Regions from separate parts of the Homo sapiens genome. Here region 2 is linked to region 1. The links are contacts of gene promoters, found by promoter capture Hi-C in blood cells and fetal thymus (Javierre and others, 2016). All regions are on one chromosome and are shown on one strand. The core of a region is centred on a gene start or on the middle of the fragment in contact, and the rest is flanking DNA. Distances in the headings are between cores, read along the strand shown.

Region 1 (3,339 bases), core at 679-3,178:
GTGGTGCGCACCTGTAATCCCAGCAACTCAGGAGGCTGAGGTAGGAGAACAGCCTGAACCTGGGAGGCGGAAGTTGCAGTGAGTCAAGATCGTACCACTGCACTCCAGCCTGGGCGACAGAGGGAGACTCCATCTCAAAAAAAAAAAAAAAAAGAGTCAGTGAAGTCAAAAAATCTGAACACTATCAACCGACTTGCTCTAATTGACATTTTCAGAACACTAGACCCAAGAACTGCAGAGTATACATTCATTACAAGTGCAAAGAGTATTCATCAAAACAGACCATATGCATAATTTTCAAATGACTGATATCTTAAAATTAGCTCTAAAAATATTACGCAAAGTGGTATTGCTAAAAAGCCATTAAAGCAATACCAAAAAACACTCAAAAACCCAATATCTGATAGAAAAGGAACACAAGAGAAACAAAACCAGAAAGGTCAAATGGAAAACTTTAGAGCTTCCTGGGTTCAAATATATTCTCTGATCATAGTGCAATTAAAGTAGAAATCAATAACAATAACTAGAAAATCCCAATTTATGGAAATTACTAAATAATGCTCTTAACCCATAGTCAAAGAAAAAAATCACAAAGGAAATTAAAATATGTTTTCATACTGAGTGACAATGACAGCATTATCAAACCACCTGAAAAGCAGCTTTAGCTCAGAGGTAAACCTACAGTTTCAAATAACATCTTAAAAAACGAATAAATATATTTTTAAAAATACCTTGCTTTGTAAATCCAACCTATTTGGCTCAAGAGTTTCAAATAACAAGCGGCAAGATTTTAGATAGCAAGATACCGACCTGTAAACTTACTGCAATTTATCTGTTTCCTAAATTAAGATAGCAGTTTAGATAATATTTAAGAGAAATGACATTTTGGAAAAACTACAGATTTTATAAAATACTTAAATCTTTTGTTAGTAATATTATACTCCCAGGTAGTGTGTAAGAAAAATGTCTCGATTATTCAAAATTAAATTACTTTATATAGTATTAAAAATTTAATAGAGTTTATATTCCGATAACCTCATGAGGAACTGCCCCCATTAGTTATGAAAAAAAAATAAGGTTGTCTGTTATACCTGTTATTAAACCTTTAACAAATAGAATGAATTTTTAAAAGTGCATTCTAGGTGTAATATACACAAGTGGTTACATACATGGTTACATATATAAGTAACCATTTGTTAAGCACCTACTACGTATCGGCTCATTATTAAGCTCGGTTCATGTATTTCCAATTCCCACAATTACCCTGGTGTACAGATCAGGAACCTCCGAGGCTCACAAGTGGCAGCCAGATTAACCCAGGAAGCTCTAAAGCCTTTGCTTTGGGGAGAACTGCCAACGTCTGGTGATTTGTTGGGGCGTTTTCTGGTTGTCACAAGCAGCTAGGGGAACTGGCATTTAGTGCTCGAGGCCAGGGCAGCGCTGCTCATTGGATATGTATTCTCCACCATGCGCCCCCCAAATGCCGACTGCACTCTGATGAGAGAGGGAGAGACTCCAGGCATCATCCCATCGGGTTTCCTCTTCCAGAGACTCATTTTCAGCCCTTAGGGGAAGACAGCGGGGAGGAGCCCGTTTTCGGTCCCAGTGCAGAGACCCGGCCGGTCCCGCGGGGCGCAGAGGCGCAGGAATGCAGAGCCGGGACGGGGTTCACACATCCCCCCGCACCCACGGTCCACTCCCAGCCATGGCTGCCCCGGCCCCGCACTCGCCACGTCCCCCGCGCGCTCCCAGACGCATGGGCAAGGGAGCCCGCTGGCCCCTCCGTAGCTCCGGGGTGCCCAGCTGAGTCAGGTGCGGACGCAGATAGCGCAAGGCCTGACCCCGAGCGGCCGGAGGCCGGGACCGCCCCGCAAGCGCGCTCACCTCGGCCCGCGGCGCCGGCTCCGGGCGCACTTCCGGGAGCTGGGTGGCTGCGCGCGCCTCAGGCGGCAGGCGAACGACGTGCGGCACCGGGCGGAGCTAGGGGGCGGGGGCGGAGCTGATACCGAAGCTCCTATTGGCCGTCGGGGACGCCCCGCCTCTCTCTGGCGTTGCAGCCCAGGAGCCTCCACCGACATGGCAGCGAGGTTCCCGAGCCAACGCCATCCTCCGTTCCTTCCGTCACTCACTCACTAATCACTGTTCCTGAGTTCCTTCACTTCTCACCCGTCATTTATTGCGCACCTATTCTGTGCCAGGCACTCGGCCAAGCACTGCGAGGCCTTCAAAGATCATTTCTTTGTCTCTCCCAAACCCTTCCGCCCAGTCCCACCCGCAGAGCTGCAACGCTCTGCCATTATCCCTGATTCTTAACCGCCGCCTTTCTCCTTTCCGTTCTTGCCTCACTGGGCCTCCCTGAGACACTTGATTTGCCCCAACCTTCTTCCTCTGTCTTGGTTCTCCCACTCTCATCAGCTCTGCATCCCCTGGGTCCTCTCCCACTTCTCCCCATTCCGTTGGGGCTAGTCCAATGTGGTGCCATCCTCTTTCCACCTGCGTCTCTCTCTCTTCTCTCTCTCTCTCTCAACAAATGTCATCCCTGACTCTTCCCTTCTCCTTCCCTTTCCCACACGCCAACAATGGCTGAATCCTCTGATTTGACCTCATTGTCTCTCAGACACCTCACCCTCTCTCCCTTCTCACTATCCCTCCCTCGGCTCAGTTCCACACCATTTGTAATGGTCAAGACCTTCTTACCCTTTCCCCAGCGTCCAGTGTTGCCGGTTTCCAGGCCATCCTGTGCTGGGCCACGACATCAACTTGTGATACTAAGTTGCATTAATGGAAGTATCATGTCAAAGTTTGGGTGTTCCACCTTGGGCAACTGGCAAAGAGGAGGGTATTCAAAAAAAGCTGCCATGTTCCCCAATAACCTATGGAAATAAAATAAATAAAAAATAAAAATTTAAAGAAGAGCTGTCATTATCATAACATGTCCTGTACCTGTCATTATCATAACATGTCCTGTACCTGTCATTATCATAACATGTCCTGTACCTGTCATTATCATAACATGTCCTGTACCTGTCATTATCATAACATGTCCTGTACCTGTCATTATCATAACATGTCCTGTACCTGTCCCATGTTTACAAGAATTAAAGATCCTCCTCTGGAGAAATAAAGCTTGATGCGGGGATGGGATTACATCTTCATGTACCTGAAAAGTGACCAGCGGAAAAGGGATTCGACATGTTCTCTTAAGTCCCAGGGTCTGAACAAGATCCTATGTGTGAAACTACTGTTTCAGCCTGACATAGGTGGAAGTTTCTAGTCTTTTTTTTTTTTTTTTTTTTTTTTTGTATTTTTGGTGGAGACGGGGTTTCACCATGTTGGCCA
Region 2 (3,754 bases), core at 1,220-3,719, 1.0 Mb after region 1:
ATGAATAAACTAAAGCTCAGAAAGGTAAAGTAACTTGATCAAGGTCACATAGTTAATCAGAACTCAAGTCTTTTTAACTTGAAAGGGGAAGCGTTTCAACGACCAGGTATCTCTGGAGGGCAGAAGACTGATTTGCAAAAAGGAAAATTCTTGTTACTGATATTACAAAAGGAAAGATTGCTTTTGAAAGATGTGTCAGGAAAGACTCACCAGTTGTGGAGGTCCAGAAAGTACACACTTTGGAAGCCCGGTTTCCTTTAAAGTAAGAATCATTCCTAAAAAGGATGCATAAAATCAGATCTCTCATCAATTTGACCTGTCGTCACTAACAGGAGGAGCACCCCGTACTAATCCAACTATTTATCTACATCTCCACCTTCCAGCTTTGGAAGTACAACCAGGGAAGATGTACAGAGCAGAAGTGATGCCAGCTAGAGGTGTAACAGACACCAAATATTCTTTAAATGCCTCTAGAATGGGCTGAGCTGTCACTAGGGTGAAGCAGCAAGGCACCCAGTGTGCAAAATGTAAGGAATCATGCAAGTGAAGGGCTGGCACCCTAAGTGCCTCACCCTAGTCTCAGCCCTGAGAAGGGAGACTGGTCTAACACTTCACTCCTTCCGGTCCATGCCACCAAGCCCACACAATTTGGCTGCAACACAATCCTGACCTTCCGGTTGATAGACATAAATGACAGGGTAATCTGGACAGTGGGTATGTGTGTGGCTGCCAATGTGCCAATGGCGTCTGCGGTAAACATATTAACTGTAATCACCACTGCTAGACTCTCCAGTTTACTGCCACAAATCTCTGTCCCCGCAACGCAAGAAACTAAGTGGATGGTAACACTTAAGAGGTGGTATCCATATTAAAATCTGTTCTCCTGAGTCACAGCTTTTAATGCTCTGTGCTGCTGCTGACTGGGCTGGTATAAAAAGAATTCCAGGCCAGGTGCGGTGGCTCATGCCTGTAATCCCAGCACTCTGGGAGGCCGAGACAGGAGGATCGCAGAAGTTTGAGACCAGCCTGGGCAACATAGCAAAACCCCGTCGCTACAAAACATACAAAAAAAATTAGCCAGGTGTGATGGGGCACACGTGTGGTCCCAGCTATTTGGGAGGCTGAGGTGAGGGGATCACCTGAGCCCAGAAGGCAAAGGTTGCAGTGAGCCAAGATCACGCCACTGACAAAAAAAAAAAAAAAAAAAAAAGTAGCTGCCCACCCCAGACTTGGAAAAATGGTAAAGCCGGTTAAAATCCCAGAGACTTCCCACCAGCCTCTGACACTGCAAAGAATATACTCACCACTTAAGCCCCCAACATTAGACCAGTGCATTCGTGTCAGGAATATGTTGTCCAGGCGAGCAACCTTTAACCTAAGAATGAAAAAACATTTAAACAGGATAACATGAACAGAACAAGGACCACTTTTGCTATAAAAAACAACTGGCCTCTCATTTCGGCTTTCAAGCCCCGTAATCAACTCCCCCTCCGAAAGCAAGAGACTGACTCACTTGTGCTCCTGCATGAGTCTCTGAACGCCTTCTCCACAGTTGAAGAGATACCTACAAGACAAACATTACACAAGACATTCAGAAGGTTTTATTCTGTAAACTCTCTGACACCAATTAGATGTTTTATTGTAGACTCTGGAAAAAAAAAAAAGAAAAAAAAATTAAAAGTCCACGTTGGACTACCGAGCCACATTTATGCTGGTGGGTTTTGAGCCCTCCTTAGCAGAGGTGGAGAGGAGTGGGGGCCTGTGTGTGTGGGTGCTAGGACAAAATGAGTCCTTTCTCCACCACCGGCTACACACCAGATCTGTCCACCCCACACGCTAACAACGACACACTGGCCTTGGGGTGCACGGAAGAGGGTGGAGCTCCGAAAGTGCTGACAGCCAGGCCGGGGCCCAAGGGTTGGGAAAAGGACGCTCAGACCCAGGCCTGAAGTTCTTCACAGATCCGCAGAAATCACATGGATGCAAAGAATCTCGGATTTCCCACCCACCATAACTCCACGAACCCCCGCAACAGTGAACCACATGTGTGAAGCAGGGAAGCCGAAGCCCTGGGAGGTGCCCCGATGCTCAGAGGCTGCGCCGCACTGAGGGCCCAGCGGGACGGGGCGTGGCTCGTTGACTGACCGGTTGAACTCGGAGAAGACGTAGAGCGCGGCGCCCGAGTCCCGGCTACCCGCTGCCACCACCTGCAGGTACACGGTGTTTGGGCCGCCGGAGCACCCCGACGGTCCGCGCTTCTCTCGCGTGCGCAGGTGCCGCAGCGGGTCCTTGCGCGGCCGCTCGCGGCGGGCGGGTGCCTGCGATATGGTGCGTCCCTGCGACATGGTGCGTCCGGCCGCGGACCGCAGCAGCGAGCAAAGCGCCCACATGCGCCCGTCTCCACCAAAACTGAGAAAGCCGCCGGTCACCTACGCCCGCGTTTCCCGTGCACCACCTAGCCGCTCCGCATGGCGGATCCAGCCAATCAGCGCGCCGTGCACCGAGCTTCCCGCCTACGCGAGGCTGCTCATCCAATAGAAAGGAGCTTTACCGCTCGGGACTTGTCAATTGACAGTGGCCATAGAGTAGAGGAATACTAGAGCGTCTCAAGCGGCCCCGCCCCTAGTTCTGTTCCGGTTTGCCGGCCGCAATTTTTTCCGGAAGCTGTTTTTCTCCTGGGGCGGGACTTCCGGAAGCACAGTGCCAGGAAAAGCCTTCCTGGGGAAGGCGGGACCTAGGAGTTTGGAGTTTCGCTAAAACGCTCCTGTTCTCACCAGATAAGAGCTGTGTCCTCCGGGCACGTCAGTCCCTCAGAGCTTGAGTTAGAGGTGGTTGTAGTGGTTGTGAGGATTAAATGTGAGGAAATCAATTGTATTGAGCATTAGCATAAGCGCTTTGCTAATTTTATTTCCATTGTAATTCGTATGCATACATGTTAGAACTTGATCATTTTTACGTGGTGTCCCGAGCTTGTAGTCCCAGCTACTTGGGAGGCTGAGGCAGGAGAATCGCTTAAGCGCGGAGGCGGAGGTTGCGGTGAGTCGAAATCGCGCCACTGCACTCCAGCCTGGGTGACACCTCGAGACCCTGTCTCAAAACAAAACAAAACAAAACAAAAATTGTAGTGTTTTTTGGAAAGAAAAGCAAGAATAGAGGACAAGCTCTAAAGCAAGAGTCTTGGCTCATTTGTTAGCTGCGTGATCTTGACCTCTCAGAGCCTCAGCTTTCTTATGTGTAAAATGTAATAACAGCAATAACAGTATCTCCTACTTCAGAATATAGAATTCAGTCACCTGATAATATATCAATAGACCTTTGAGTGGCACTGTCACAGAAGAGGCACCCAGTAAATGATAGAAAATTAATACAAAATGTTTCAACTCCTAGACAATATAGCTGACCAGGGACATCACAGAGGTAGATGTCCCAATACCAGCTTTTTGAAAAAAACACCCAGTCCCCTCTTATGTAGCTAATGAGGATTTCTCACTGAAAGGGATATCAGTTAAAGCCGCTAGAAATACAGGGAGCTCCCTTAAAAGAGGAAGATAATTTACCTGGAAGCTCCACTCAAATATGATTTTTTAAAGATAATTTACCTGGAAGCTCCACTGACATATGATTTTTTTAAATAAATACTGAAAGATGTCACTTTTATTCAGGAAGTAAGGGAGATTCAAGTCATGTAGATTCCTACTCGAAAATCTTGACACCTGACTTTCCAGGATCACATTTTCATATGGAGACCAGTTTC

Evidence for each region. The method cuts DNA at HindIII sites, captures the fragments that hold promoters and counts their contacts. A CHiCAGO score of 5 or more calls a contact.
Region 2: the fragment with the promoter of ELAC2 here is called in contact with the fragment with the promoter of ZNF18 in region 1 in 7 of 17 cell types (naive B cells, fetal thymus, M2 macrophages and 4 more); the score reaches 10.0 in naive B cells.

What each region holds. Positions count from the first base shown.
Region 1 is chr17:11,995,547-11,998,885 of GRCh38, forward strand. ZNF18 (zinc finger protein 18) reads right to left here and starts at 1,929. Exons shown (of 7, transcript NM_001303281.2): 1 at 1,885-1,929. RefSeq lists a silencer at 1,628-2,077 and enhancers at 2,010-2,993, 2,108-2,347, 2,418-2,497. The HindIII fragment of the contact is 4,230 bases long and covers 1-3,124 here.
Region 2 is chr17:13,015,558-13,019,311 of GRCh38, forward strand. ELAC2 (elaC ribonuclease Z 2) reads right to left here and starts at 2,470. Exons shown (of 24, transcript NM_018127.7): 1 at 2,146-2,470; 2 at 1,514-1,564; 3 at 1,305-1,375; 4 at 211-275. The coding sequence starts at 2,390. RefSeq lists enhancers at 1,786-2,286, 1,798-1,907, 1,928-1,987 and a silencer at 2,508-2,587. The HindIII fragment of the contact is 8,738 bases long and covers 1-3,754 here.